3 separate regions of the Homo sapiens genome follow, and all the other regions are linked to region 2. The links are contacts of gene promoters, found by promoter capture Hi-C in blood cells and fetal thymus (Javierre and others, 2016). All regions are on one chromosome and are shown on one strand. Each heading gives the region's core, a stretch centred on a gene start or on the middle of the fragment in contact. The rest is flanking DNA. Distances are from core to core; before and after follow the strand shown.

What was found. The method cuts DNA at HindIII sites, captures the fragments that hold promoters and counts their contacts. A CHiCAGO score of 5 or more calls a contact.
Region 1: a fragment that was not itself captured here is called in contact with the fragment with the promoter of OARD1 in region 2 in 1 of 17 cell types (non-activated CD4 T cells); the score reaches 7.6 in non-activated CD4 T cells.
Region 3: a contact is called between a fragment that was not itself captured here and the fragment with the promoter of OARD1 in region 2, in 1 of 17 cell types (neutrophils). The highest score is 5.1, in neutrophils.

The regions. Positions count from the first base shown.
Region 1 is chr6:38,641,779-38,644,478 of GRCh38, reverse strand. The region is part of intron 1 of LOC105375044 (a long non-coding RNA gene); the gene reads right to left. Among named protein-coding and RNA genes, the nearest start is that of BTBD9, 3.2 kb to the right of the region's middle. The HindIII fragment of the contact is 4,394 bases long and covers 1-2,700 here.
Region 2 is chr6:41,071,103-41,073,802 of GRCh38, reverse strand. It overlaps OARD1 (O-acyl-ADP-ribose deacylase 1), which reads left to right and starts at 1,447. Exons shown (of 6, transcript NM_001329686.2): 1 at 1,447-1,567; 2 at 2,128-2,207; 3 at 2,527-2,671. The coding sequence starts at 2,169. It overlaps NFYA (nuclear transcription factor Y subunit alpha), which reads right to left and starts at 829. Exons shown (of 10, transcript NM_002505.5): 1 at 719-829. RefSeq lists silencers at 1-98, 129-758 and enhancers at 1,139-1,188, 1,219-1,428. The HindIII fragment of the contact is 4,776 bases long and covers 1-2,700 here.
Region 3 is chr6:43,571,662-43,574,361 of GRCh38, reverse strand. XPO5 (exportin 5) reads left to right here. Exons shown (of 32, transcript NM_020750.3): 2 at 761-882; 3 at 1,784-1,856. Among named protein-coding and RNA genes, the nearest start is that of XPO5, 3.0 kb to the left of the region's middle. The HindIII fragment of the contact is 3,844 bases long and covers 1-2,700 here.

The sequences.
Region 1 (2,700 bases), core at 60-2,559, 2.4 Mb after region 2:
CAAAATTAAGTAAGATAATACATGAGGATTAGACAAGCAAATGTATTAAAGCATGGCATTAGTGACAAAAAATATTTCCTCTTGAATCTACTGGAAAAATATAAATTATTCTTGCATTTAACTTTTATTTGTGTCCATTTTAACAACTAACCAATTTTAGTTTAGAAACAGTTATATATAAATATTCATTTAGATCACAACAAAACTACCTAGAAGGAATGTTAGGTGACAACGCTGGTTTAGCACAATTCTCCTGTTCTTTTTTTACCTCCATGGAAATGCCTTAATATATTTGTGTCCATTTTTGAGGCATACTGTGTTTACTTAACAGTGTAGGTAAGTACAACACTCTTGACTTCCATTAGATAGAGCTAACTGCGCCCTTATCTGTATCACTTTATATATCCCTCATTTCACTTCATACAGATTCTGTTATAGTATATTGTATTATACTTACAATATATTTATATCTAGCTTTTAGGGTCTTGCTCTGTTGCCCAGGCTGAAGTGCACTGGCACAGTCATAGCTCACTGTAATCTGGTAATAGCTCACTGTAACCTCAAACTCCTGGGCTCACCCAATCCTCTTGCCTCAGCCTCCCAAGTAGTTAGAACTGCAGGTGCGCACCACCACACCTGGCTAATTTTTAGAAAATTTTTGTAGAGATGGGTGTCTGGCTATATTGCCCAGGCTGGTCTCAAACTCCTGGCCTCAGGTGATCTTCCCATTTTGGCCTTCCAAAGCACTGGGATTACGGGGCATGAGCCACCACAATCAGGTCTATCTTATTATTTTTTATTTTTATTTATTTACTTATTTTAATTTTTTTTTTGAGACAGAGTTTTGCTCTTGTTGCCCAGGCTGGAGTCCAATGGCGAGATCTTGGCTCTACACAACCTCTGCCTCCCGGATTCAAGTGATTCTCCTGTCTCAGCCTCCTGAGTAGCTGGGATGATGGCATATGCCACCATGCCCGGCTAATTTTTGTATTTTCAGTAGAGACGGGTTTTCATCATATTGGTCAGGCTGATCTCAAACTCTTGACCTCAGGTGATCTACCCGCCTCGGCCTCCCAAAGTGCTAGGATTACAGGCATAAGCCACCGCGCCTGGCCTTACTTTTTTTTCTTTTTTTTTTTTTAAAGAACTATGACAGCTAGTTACATACTTAGTATTTCTCTCTCTCTCTCCAAATTGTGAGTTCCTTGAAAACTGTGTTATAGCCATAGTATCTAGGACAGAAGCTGGCATGAAATATACTGATTCTTAGTGGTTGGAAAATGGTCTGAGAAGGATTTGAAGTGTGCTGTTATAAGCAAGTGAGTCTGATATGAAATTGGGGTGATTGAGCCCGGGGGTTGAGGCTGCAGTGAGCCAAGATTGTACCACTGCACTCCACACTGGGCAACAGAGCAAGATGCTGTCTCAAAAATAAAAAATAAAAATAAATAAAAGTATTGAATCAGATATGACAAAAAATAAAAAAATAAAACTGGGGGGATTATCTAGGAATTAATGAGAAAATCATAGACTCAGCTTGATCTCATCCTTTGCCAGATGCGAAAACCAAAGCCTGGAGTAGTTGAGGGATTTGTTCAAAGTTATCTAGCTAGTTAATGGCCAGAATCAAGACTAGAATCTCAAAACTCCCATCAAACTAGTCTAGAGGCCAATCCACTATATTGATCTGCCTTTCAGATCTCAGTGATTTGGTATCTATCTCCACTATCCCACTGAAGTTTGCTATTGTTGGTTACCAATCACTTTTCTGTTGCTAAATCCAGTGAATGCTTTCCAGTTCTTGATATACTTGGCCTTTTTGTGGTCTCTGACTCTGTTGACCCCTCTCCATCTTGCTTGCTTGGCTTCAGAGGCATTAGGCTCACCTAGTTCTCCTTTTCTCTCTCTGGCCATTCTTCCTCAGACTTCTTTTTGGGCTTCTGATCATCTGCACCTCCTTTTAAAGTTAGTGCTCTCCAGGGGCCCTATCCTTGCCTCTCCTTATTATGTCTTCTGTATTTTCTCCCTGATTGATCTCATCCATGCCTCGGGCTTAAATTACCAATTATTAATTTATTTCTTCCAAATCTATTTTAACTCAACCTCTTTCCTCATTCATAGACCTGTACAGTTTGAGTGTTTATTGGACATTTTTCTCTAGATGTGGAGGTTCCATCAGGTCACAGTCATATTGCTATAGTCTCTGAGGGGACCTACTGAATTGTACCCTTCTTTTCCAGGTAATGGAGAAAGCTGCAGGAAACCAACTATTATCTTTATTACTGACTGTATCAGTTTCCTATTGCTGTTGTAACAAGTTAGCACAAACTTGGTACCTTAAAACATACAAGTTTCTTATCTCGCAGTTCTAGAAGTCAGAAGTCCTAAAATCAAGGTGTTGGCAGGGCTGTGTTCTTAGGGTGCTAGAGAAGAATCCATTTCCTTGCCTTCTCCCGCATCTACAATTTGCTTGCGTTTCTTGGGTCCATCTTCAAAGCCAACAGTATAGCATCTTCAAATCTCTGTCTGACCTCTGCTTCCATCATCACATCTCCTTCTCTGACTCTGACCCTCCTGCCTCCAGCCCAGTCAGACAATCCAGGATAATCTCCCTAGATACATCATTTAATCATATCTGCAAAGTCCCTTTTGCCACATAATATAACATATTCATGGGTTCTGAGTATTAGGGTGTGGTCA
Region 2 (2,700 bases), core at 198-2,697:
CGGGCTGGGAGGAGGGGCGCGGCGGAGCAGGGGGAGTGGGCGAACTAACGGCCCCCTCTCCCCACCAGGGAGACAGCGGGGGCGGGCCCATAGGGCTCCGAGGCGTGGGCGGGCCAGCCCCGTTGCCAGCCGCACACGGGACCCCGCGGCCGCGGCGCGCACCCTCCCCAGGCCTCCCTCCCGACCTAGAGGGGCTGCAGATAAGACAGACCCGGCTCGCTGGGAGCGGGGAGCGGGGGGCGCGGGCCCCGGGGAGGCTTCCTGTCCCAAGGGCCGGAGAGTGGAGAGTGCAAGGGCAGGTTTAAGTTTGCGGCCAGAACGACCAGGAGGAAATCGCCGAGGCCCAGGGCGCGCATGTGTCCCCTAGTGTAGGGCCATTCGTGGCCCCAGGCCTGGGGCCTGAGAACCTGGGCCTGAGTCGGGGAACAGGGACGCATTCCCAACTGGCCCTGGCACCCTGCGAGGGTCGGAGCCCCGAGGTGCCTGCTCCCCGAGGCGCCATCCCCGCGCGGGGCGGCCCCTGCAGGCCTCGGCCGGGAGTGCCCCGAGGCGCTCGCAGGCCCCGGGCCGGGGCCGCTGGCCGCCCGGCTCGGCTAGGCTCAGCTCGACTCCCCGGGCTCGACGGGCGCCTGGGCCTCTCCTGAGTGGTCAGCGAGACCCGCCAATCGGGGCGCTGGGGCCGGCTCTGGGCCGCTGGATATTGGCTCCTCACACTCACCGTGCCTCGCTCCCCCGGTTCGCTGCCCGCGCTGATTGGCTCCAGTACCGGACTCCGAAACCCAATCAGAGGCTCCAGCCGCCGCTGCCGCCGCCACTGCCGCTGCCTAGCAAAATGGCGAACCCGAACAAAGGGGAATCGGGCCTCCCTCCAACCGCCTCCGCGCAGGCGCCTCTGAGGCCACGCCCACTAACTCCAGTTCAGGGATCGCCCCACCCCTTCGGAGGAGCAACGCGCAGGCGTTCCCTGAAGCCACGCCCACCTTCCCGCTTTGACACCACCCCCAGTGAAAGGAATACGCAGGCGCTTTCCAGACGCGCCAGACCCTTCAACTCAAAACGCTGCCTTGAGCTTAGTACTACGCAGGCGCTAACTAGCCCCTTTGCCAGCTGCCCACCCCTTTCCAAGTGGCCACTAGGACACACCCCTGCGGCTAATGCGCAAGCGCCACTTTTCCCGACTCGTGGGGCAGTTTCGTTACGCATGCGCGGGCGGCGGCGGGAAACCACGGAATTTACTGCCGGAAGTTCGGCGGCCTTCGCCAAAGAGTGTGGGCTCGGCTAGCAAGCTAGAGGGGCTCGTTTCCGCCCCGCTACCGGGCGGGGGCGGCCATCTTAGATGCGTGCAATTAAGGGCTTTGGCGGGATTGGCTCCGCGTTTGGGCTGGTCCGCTGCTCCCCACCTACCAGGGTCGGATCCGGAGCCCTTCCCCGCGGGGCGGGGACCTCCAAACAACCGACTCCTTTCCAGGTGAAGGGTGACTTGGGTACGTTGGGGCTTTGAGCGAGCCTCCCCGCACCCTCCCATAGGACCCCAGGACAGACTGCGTCCTCGCTGACCCGCCCTAGGGTAGGAGACAGAGAATGGGAGGCTTCAATAGACTCTTTCCTTCTCCCACGCACCCCCCAAAAAAGTGGGGGGTGAACGTTCCTTGAGAGGCCGCCTTCCTTTCCCCACGCCTGGGGCTCAGCACGCCAGTACCCTGTACACTCTGTGGTTGCGGCTTAACGGGACTGTGGCCAAGTCCCTTCTGTTTTCTTCTAAGCCAGACCCACTGGGGAAATACTTTTGCGTCGTGCAGAGAAAAGGAGACCGTCCTAAATCGGCCTTGCTCCGGAGTGGCCCTGGAGAAAGGAGGAGGCGTGTCTTAGGGATGGGCTTTGCTTCCGCTGACGGAGCGGGGCGCTCCAGGAAAGCACGAAATGAGAGCGGGTCGAGACAGCCTCCGAACCTAAGCGTTCTTCCTCTTTGCCCCAGAAGGGTTTTGTATTACGTCCCAGGGGCCGAACAAACTCACATTCATCGATAAACGTTGGGGAAAAAAGCCTATTAAGTGGTTGTACAGGGCAATCAGAATATTATATACTAAGGCTGCCTAAGCATTTTTACTTCCTTTTCCCTTCTCATAGCTGAAGAAACACTTAAATTCTGGAAATAGCGACTCAGTATCATGGCCAGCAGCCTTAATGAAGATCCAGAAGGAAGCAGAGTGCGTAACAACTATTGACTTATTGGTGAACTGAAATTCGTAATAATGGAGGTCAAAAGCATAAACACTTTTTAATTAAATTAATGATTGCATTATCTTTTTTTCTCTCTAGCTGATTTACTTTAAAAAGGCTCAAAATTCTAGGCAGGGATCATCCATTACTTTCCTTTTACACATGCTGTAATTGGTTTGGCTTTAAATCAGATTGGAGGAAGGGGTGCCGGGAGAGGTAGTCGTGGGGGACACAAAATACAGAAAAATAGCTTAGTATTTTACTGTATCTAATAAAACATTGTCTTTTCCTTTGCACATTTTTTAGATCACTTATGTGAAAGGAGACCTTTTTGCATGCCCGAAAACAGACTCTTTAGCCCACTGTATCAGTGAGGATTGTCGCATGGGCGCTGGGATAGCTGTCCTCTTTAAGAAGAAATTTGGAGGGGTGCAAGAACTTTTAAATCAACGTGAGTTTTGGAAACCACTTACCTGGTTT
Region 3 (2,700 bases), core at 10-2,509, 2.5 Mb before region 2:
ATAATATTGATCTAGGTTTTGCAACTTTAAACATATAGCTTAGGTTGGAGTTTCTTTTTGAGTAGGGTCTCACTCTGGTTGTCCAGGCTGGCGTGCAGTGGTGAGATCTCGGCTCACTTCAGCCTTGATTTCTCGAGCTCAAGTGATTCTCCTACCACTTCAGCCTCCTGAGTAGCTGGGATTACAGGCACCTGCCACCATGCCCGGCTAATTTAAAAAAATATTTTTAGTGGGCCGGGCACAGTGGCTCACGCCTGTAATCCCAGCACTTTGGGAGGCCAAGGCAGGTGGGTCACCTGAGGTCAGGAGTTCAAGACCAGCCTGGTCAACATGATGAAACCTTGTTTCTACTAAAAATACAAAAATTAGCTGGGTGTGGTGGCGTGCACTTGTAGTCCCAGCTACATGGGCTCAGGAGGCTGAGGCAGGAGAACTGCTTGAACCTGGGAAGCAGAGGTTGCAGTGAGCCGAGATCATGCCATTGCATTCCAGCCTGGGCGACAGAGTGAGACTCCGTCTCAAAAAAAAAAAAAAAAAATATATATATATATATATATTTAATAGAGATGGGGTTTCGCCATGTTGCCTAGGCTAGTCTCAGACTCCTAGACTCAAGTAGTCCACCCATCTCAGCCTCCCAGAGTGCTGGGACAGGTGTGAGCCACCGCACCCGGCCCTGGTTGGAGTTTCTTAAGATGAAATTCTTTTAGTCCCTATTCTCTCAGCCCTCGAAAGGAAACACTAACTTTTCTTCTTTCAGTTTTGTGAGGAGTTTAAAGAAAAGTGTCCTATCTGTGTCCCCTGTGGCTTGAGGTTGGCTGAGAAAACACAAGTTGCCATCGTCAGACATTTTGGCCTTCAGATCCTGGAACACGTTGTCAAGTAAGGAGCTCTTGGACATTACCACTGAAGTCTGAGAGAACAGATCTTTATATCTTATATAACCTATAGAGATGCTGTTTAGGTGAGTAGAGAAGAGCAATCTCCAAGAAGAGAGGAATGATCCCCTAGATGTTATCAGAACCTCACAGGAGCTCTCATTCAAGATTTAACCTTTCTTTTCTTCAGTTTCTTCATCCATGTAAAGTGTGTGGTACATATTACCCATTCAACAAATATTACCTGCCATTTAGCCAATACTTACTGAGCTCTGACTATATGTCATTAGCCCTCGAAGCCTTTTTAGAGTAATGCAATGTATAGGTCAATGAATCTCTGATTAGGCACTGTGGCTTTCTTTTTTCTCTCTGTCTTTCTGAGTTTGTGTGCCTTCTCTGGGTGGTACATCCAAAGCAGGATTGTATGAGAATAACTGAAAACCCATCCTAACTTGATTGTCCTACCCTCAACACCTATCAGAAGAGGTAGCCTTTAAGACTTAGCCATAGTTTTTCCAGAATTGTTTTGTAAGCCAGCACAGAAAATGACTGATGTCAAAACTGCATTTTCTGAAAAGCAAGTACATTGTTGCAGTTGACCTAGATGTATATTCACTTTTGGCCCATCAATAAAATCATGAGGCAAAGCTGACGTGTGGTACAAATCTTGTGCGGATTCCAGTTAATGGACCACTGCATATATAAAACCTTTTCCCAAGAATTTTTGTGTTAGTATTTTGGTTAAATGTAGATCATTTTTGCCCATTCATTGACAGGTACAAAATCAAAAGTATAATTTCTTAATGAAATCTCCAGTGTAATCAAATGTAGAAATCCATGCTATTCTCTTGTAAAGACAAGACTTCTAAAGTGGTTCTATTGACTTTATGCATTTTGGTGGTCAGGTTTCGGTGGAACGGCATGTCTCGATTGGAGAAGGTGTATCTGAAGAACAGTGTCATGGAGCTGATTGCAAATGTAAGGAATGGGTGGTTGGGAGACATGTTTCCAAGGTAGTTTAGGCAAAGCGTGACTTCTTCAATAGGGAGTTTGTGTAAAAATTCACTGCTTCTAAATAGGTCAGACAGCACAAGAAATCATAATTTAGGCCAGGCACAGTGACTCACACCTGTAATTCTAGCGCTTTGGGAAGCCAAGGTAAGAGGATCACCTGCATCTAAGAATTCGAGAGCAGCTTGGGCAATGCAGTGAGACCCCATCTCTACCAAAAATGCAAAAATTAGCTGAGCGTGGTGGCGCATGCCTGTGGCCCAGCTACTCAGGAGGCTGAGGTGGGAGGATTTTCTGAGCCCAGGAGGTCCAGGCTGCAGTGAGCTGTGATGGTGCCATGGCACTCCAGCCTGTGCAACAGAGCAAGACCCTATCTCAAAAACAAAACAAAACAAAAGCAGAAAGCATAATTCAGCATATGTCTCTTACTAGGTTTAATTAATCATGCTTATGTATTGACTTCTATTTTTTAAATTATAAAGACAGGGCAGAGGGGATTAAATATTTTCAACAAATCAATAAGATTCTTAGATCTAAATTAGATTGAAACACTATTTTCTTTTATTCCAAACAACTACTATGTGATACTAATGATGAAAAACATGCAGAATTTTAAGTATGCAGAATGAATTTGTTTCAAGTATTAGAATATGACTTTTTTTTTTTTTTGAGACAGAGTCTCTGTTGCTCCGGCTGGATTGCATTAGCATGATCATAGCTCACTGCAGCCTCGAACTCCTGGGCTCAAGTGATCTTCTCGCCTTAGCCTCCCAAGTAGCTGGGATTATAGGCATGTGGTACCATGCCCAGC